Regions from separate parts of the Homo sapiens genome. Here region 2 is linked to region 1. Evidence: promoter capture Hi-C in 16 types of primary human blood cells and fetal thymus (Javierre and others, 2016). All regions are on one chromosome and are shown on one strand. The core of a region is centred on a gene start or on the middle of the fragment in contact, and the rest is flanking DNA. Distances in the headings are between cores, read along the strand shown.

The links. Contacts are between HindIII fragments. The CHiCAGO score rates a contact against its expected background, and 5 or more counts as called.
Region 2: a contact is called between a fragment that was not itself captured here and the fragment with the promoter of CDNF in region 1, in 1 of 17 cell types (naive CD8 T cells). The highest score is 5.4, in naive CD8 T cells.

What each region holds. Positions count from the first base shown.
Region 1 is chr10:14,836,614-14,839,447 of GRCh38, forward strand. CDNF (cerebral dopamine neurotrophic factor) reads right to left here and starts at 1,424. Exons shown (of 4, transcript NM_001029954.3): 1 at 1,219-1,424. The coding sequence starts at 1,333. It overlaps HSPA14 (heat shock protein family A (Hsp70) member 14), which reads left to right and starts at 1,693. Exons shown (of 14, transcript NM_016299.4): 1 at 1,693-1,846. The coding sequence starts at 1,790. MSANTD7 (Myb/SANT DNA binding domain containing 7) reads left to right here and starts at 1,693. Exons shown (of 5, transcript NM_001378785.1): 1 at 1,693-1,846. RefSeq lists a silencer at 1,477-1,586 and an enhancer at 1,737-1,976. The HindIII fragment of the contact is 8,843 bases long and covers 1-2,834 here.
Region 2 is chr10:14,186,343-14,189,176 of GRCh38, forward strand. All of the region lies in intron 2 of FRMD4A (FERM domain containing 4A), which reads right to left. LOC124902378 (a long non-coding RNA gene) reads left to right here. Exons shown (of 2, transcript XR_007062060.1): 2 at 1-120. Among named protein-coding and RNA genes, the nearest start is that of FRMD4A-AS3, 110 kb to the left of the region's middle. The HindIII fragment of the contact is 2,436 bases long and covers 176-2,611 here.

The DNA.
Region 1 (2,834 bases), core at 174-2,673:
CATAGAAAGCCAGGCTCCAATTATTAACACTTTAAGGACTGGGCGCTGTGGCTCACGCCTGTAATCCCAGCACTTTGGGAGGCTGAGGCGGGCCGATCACCTGAGGCCAGGAGTTCAAGACCAGTCTGGCCAACATGGTGAAACTGCATCTCTATTAAAAATATAAAAATTAGTCAGGCGTGGTGGTGGTGCCTTTAGTACCAGCTACTTGGGAGGCTGAGGCAGGAGAATCGCTGGAACCCGATGATGGAGGCTGCAGTGAGCCAAGATTGTGCCACTGTACTCCGGCCTGGGCAACACAGTGAGACTGTCTCAAAACAAAAACAAAAACAAAAAACAAAACAACAAAACAAACAAAAACACAACTTTAGTACGACTATACCCATCCATTCACTCAACATATATGATGAACCTACAATTTCCTGTTCACTAGGGATATATTTTCCAGCTGAGGGCATATACATTTAAACTAATTATTTTCAGTAAAACATGGAGTGAGCGCTACAGGAGTCCAGAAGGAAGGGGCTAGCATAGCCACTTACCTTCTTTGCCTTTGCTAACAGATCTCTAAAGTGAAGTACGCTGATTTTGCAAAAACCAAAGTCTCAGAGCTAGGGGACTTGGTGGGATACAGACTCACGTATTCTGACTGCGAGTTCACAGCTGAGATACCGTGAACAAAAAGGAACCACTCTTTTGTATTCCTCTCTTTCCCAAGGAGTCAGTGTACTCCTTTGCAAAGCAATTTTCACCTACAGAGTCCTAACAAATATTAGCTATGTCCTCTGATTTAAGCTACTCAACTCAATGCCATGTTTTGTTTTCCTTTGGGGAGTCACCAACTAGCTTGGACTTGAAAGACGTCTTCTGTGCAAGGGGAGGCAAATCTTGCTGGTTGGAAGCAGCAGAATCAATCTGGCGCCAGTATCATCTGAATCTAGCATTCTTTGCACAAACTCTAATCCAAATACAAACCCACCAGCTTTTACTGCTGAAGTTTAATATTCACAGCAAAACCACAACGTGGCCTCACGTTACCACCAGGCCCGGCTTGAGCTTTTTACTCGAGCTGGGCTTGGGCGATCTAAAACGAGGGACAGGGCCTGCATTTCCTGGGCGGAATGTTATTTATAGCCAGGGCCAGGAGAAGCCAAAGCCGACAGCTGCTGCGCCGCAGCGCGGGGCCGCCGCCATGCAAGCAGTTGTCACACCGCTCACCTTCACAGTCGGCCCCTGGCCGCCCCCCGGCCTCCTGGCCCTGCGTCAGCACCGGGTGAGAGACCAAAAGCCCGGCGCAAAAGGCCACCACAGCAACTGGGCTCGCGCACCACATGCTGGGCCAGCAGCTTCAATCGCCTCCGCCACCCGCGCCCACCGCCCACCAAGCTGCCAAAGCGAGCTGAGCAGAATTCGAGGTTGGAAAGAATCTGCCAGTAGTTGCCAGGACAAATGACGCAACTGAACACAGAGTTTCCATTGGCTCTCAAGGAAGGGATAGGAAGGGGGCGGAGTGTAGGAGCCTTTTCCCGTCCCTCCCCGGTTGCGCGTGCGCACTGTGCAGTTTCCGCGGAGCGCAGAGACGCGCTGAAGCTACTCGCGGACTGCGCGTGAAGAAAGGCGGAACCTTCACGCTGATTGGCGGCGACGCGGGAGGCTGTAGCGGCCGACCGGACGCAGGGGGCTGGCGGGAACGTGAAGCTCCGCGGTGCCTGATGGGGCCGTTGGGCGGCCGGTAGCTGTTGCTGTTGGGGGACCCCCTCATTCCTGCCGCTGCCGTCCCTGCTGCCTCATGGCGGCCATCGGAGTTCACCTGGGCTGCACCTCAGCCTGTGTGGCCGTCTATAAGGTGAGGGGCTGCGGAGCTGGGCTAGGGCTTCATGACGGCCACCCGGTTTTCTGGCGCTGGGTCATCCACAGGCTTGAGAGCGGCGTGTCGCCGGCCTAGGGATGTCGTGGAGTGGCGTTGCCGCGAGGACACTCCGGAGCGAAGGGCCGGGCAGGCCCGGCCTCGCGCCTGGCGATTCCTCCGGAAAGTCGTCTACTCCGCGGCGGAGGCTCGCGGCGATGTAGACGCGCGGGGTCCCAGGGCGTCATGGCGGCGGGATGCCCGGAGGGGTCCCAGGGACGACGTAGCTGCAGGGTGCCCGGGGGGGTCCCGGAGACAGCGGGGCCGCTGGGTGTCCCGGGGGGTCCCGGGGACGGCGGGGCTGCGAGCATTTTGGGGGAGGTCACGGGGACGTCCTGGCCTCTGGATGCCGGAAGGGGTCTCGCTGACGTCAGGGCCTCAGGATTCCCGCGGGTGGGAGGTCCTGGGAAAGTTGTGGCCGCGAGGTACTTGGAGGCGGTGGTCTCTGGGACAGCAGGGCCGCAGAACGCGCTGAGCTGGGCCCGAACGTCTAGGTCCCGGAGGGGCGGGGAGGCTGCAGTCGAGCTGGGGCTGATGGTCCCGCAAAGCTGCCTGGCTGTGAAGCCAGTTGATGGTGCGTGGTCTACAGAGGTGGCCTTTCTGGAAGTGAGAGCCTGACAGGACTTGTGGCCTTTCTCTCATCAGTGGGGAGGCAGAAGAAACGATAATCATGAACTCCGTTGCCACTAGTCCCGCGTTTAAATGTCAAATGACTTGTTAGGAAAAGCCAAAGGGAATAATACTACTTCATTTGTAGAAATGGGAAGAAAGGGGCCCAGCGCGGTGGCTTACGCCTGTAATCCCAGCACTTTGGGAAGCCGAGGCAGGCGGATCACGTGAGGTTAGGAGTTCTAGACCAGCCTGGCTAACATGGTGAAACCCCGCCTCTACTAAAAATACTAAAAATTAGCCGGGAACGCCTGTAATC
Region 2 (2,834 bases), core at 144-2,643, 650 kb before region 1:
GCATGAAGAGATAACTGCTCATGCCAAGACCTTTCTAGGTTTCCCCTTTCCTTCCACCGATCACCCACTAATCCCAGAATCCACCCCGTAAACCTCTTCTAATAAAACTACTCCCTTGAAGCCAGCAGAGGGAGACAGATCTGAGCTGGACTCCTGTCTCCCTGGGAACAATAAAAGCTTTGCTTTTCTCACAAACCTGGTGTCATAGTCTTGGCACACTGGGCAGTGACCCTTTGGCTCCATGACAAACATGATGGTCTAGGGACCCTGCTTCTCTCCTGTTCAGTCTCAGGTGACCCAAGGACTAGACCATGCATCCTCTTCCTTCTTACCTATCTTCATATCCTCATGAGAGAAGGGAGGGTTATCAGCCTCTGAGGATGCAGATGTTGCGCTCAGCCCCAGGATCCCCAGGAGACTGGCAAAGAAGATCATAGCTTTGACTGTTCAGGGTGGCCTTGGACACAAGTTGTACCCTTAAGGAATACCCTTCTCTGACCAGTATGGTGGTTCATGCCTATAATCACAGCACTTTGGGAGGCCAGGGAGGGAAGACTGCTTGAGCCCAGGAGTTTTGAGACCAGCCTGGGCAACATACTGAGACCTCGTCTCTGCAAAAAAAAAAAAACATAATTAGTCAGGTGTGGCGGTGCACATTCCTAGCTACTAATCAGGTTAAGGCAAGAAGATTGCCTGAGCCCAGGAGTTTGGGGAAGCAGTGAGTTGTGATCATGCCTTTGTACTCTCGTTTGGGTGACAGAGCAAGGCTCTGTCTCAAAGGAAAGAAGGAAAGAAGGAAGGAAGGAAAGAAGGAAGGGAGGGAGGGAGGGAGGGAGGGCGACACTCTTCCTTATAACAAGAAACAGCTTGCATTCTATAAAAGCAATGATGTGATTTCTTAAAGGCATTATGAGCCTAACTCCATGATATCAGATCATAGGATATTACAGTCAAATTGTGTATCAACTAGTCCATCATTTCACAGATAAGTAAATTGAGTCCCAGAGAGTTCGGTTACTTTCCTAAGATTACAGAAGTCCTCAACCTTGCTAATCTGATGTTCTTTCTTTTTCAACATACTGTTGGCTATATATGTCCTTTGTAAATAAAGGAACAGAGCCATTATCGTGGAATGACTGACTTAGAGAACGCTCCATGGACATTTGCTTCGACCTATATCCCATGCCTTTCTCCATTTACCCCCAAATTGACATAGAAAAAGATCAGCCAGATACAGTGGCTGGGAGGGCAACATAGTGAGACCCCGTCCCTACGAAAAATCAAAAAATAAGCTGAGCACCAGTGGCATGCGCCTGTGGTCCCAGCAACTTGGGAGGCTGGGGTGGGAGGATCGCCTGAGCCTGGGAGGTTAAGGCAGCAATGAGCAGAATGCTGTCACAGAGAAGGAACTCAATAAATACTTGGTAAAATATTTATTTTGGGGGTTAGAAGTAGACTTGGGAAATTTGGTTTTCTTTGATTCCATATTTCACTAGGGGGAAATAAAGATGTAAAACAGAGACATAAAACATGCCATTAGCTTTATGGGCCTTGGGACAGTGGGGTTCCCAGTTTTCCCGGGAGATGACGATGGAATGCATTCAGGCAGCTCCCACAATACAATTTTCCCATCTCTAGTGTCCTATTGGGAAGGTATCTCCACCTCCTTGTAGCCTCTCCATGCTGAATACACTTAAAACTCTAACCTCCTTTCCCCCAAAGGAGCTCCTTCCTTAGACTCTCCAGGTGCTGTCCTTGATGCTAATCTTTCTTCTGGTCAGCCTTTTGTTTTTCATGTAAAAATGACTTATTTCATTACTTACTGGACCTTTTCCACAAAATGCCTGGAATCAAATAAAAAATGACTGGATTCTCAAGTCAACCTTTCTGGACGCCTGCCTCTCCCCCTGTGCCAAGGACCCATGACCTGCTTGCTGCCTGGGCTCTTTGTGTGGTTTGGTTGCTTTTCTCAGACTTGAATGCTTCCCACTGAAATCCTACAATTGGGCACATAGCACTCCCTATTGAAAATGTATAATAGCTTCTCATTATACAAGCTCTTCACTTTGGCTTTTAGAATCATGTGCCGTCTCCTTTCCTATTTGCCTCCCGCCTGCCAAACTCATTATCCAATCATTCCCTCTTCAATCAGTCCCACCTTTCTACCTTTAGGTCCTTTTCCAGAATCCAAACTTTAATCAAAGAGATAAAGCAGGCCAAGACCCAATGTCCATTACTTAATAAGCCCTCAATAGACATTAGCTTTCTTCAAAGTCCTCATCAACTCCTTTCCTTGGCTGCGCACAGTAGCTCAGACTTTGAGAGGCTGAGGTGGAAGGCTCACTTAAGCCCAGGAGTTTGAGACAAACCTGGGCAACATAGTGAGACCCCGTCCCTACGAAAAATCAAAAAATTAGCTGAGCACCAGTGGCATGCGCCTGTGGTCCCAGTAACTTGGGAGGCTGGGGTGGGAGGATCGCCTGAGCCTGGGAGGTTAAGGCAGCAATGAGCGGTGATTGCAGCACTGACCTCCAGTCTGGGCAACGGAGCGAGGTTTTGTCTCAAAAACAAAACCAAACAAAATCCCGCCCAAAACAACTCCTTTCTGGGAAGCTTTCCCTGAGCAACCCAGCTCACCTCTGTTTGTCTTCACTGCCTGTTTGACATTTAGCTTAAGTTACCTTGTGCTGTTATCTTTTAACCCTGATCTGTATTTTAACCCTCAAGCACAAGGTCTCATGGCTGTGTATTTCCACCTCTGTGTATGGTGTCCTATAGACAGTGAGAGCTTAACATCTCGCGTCAGTGATGATGCTGCAGCATTGCTACGATGT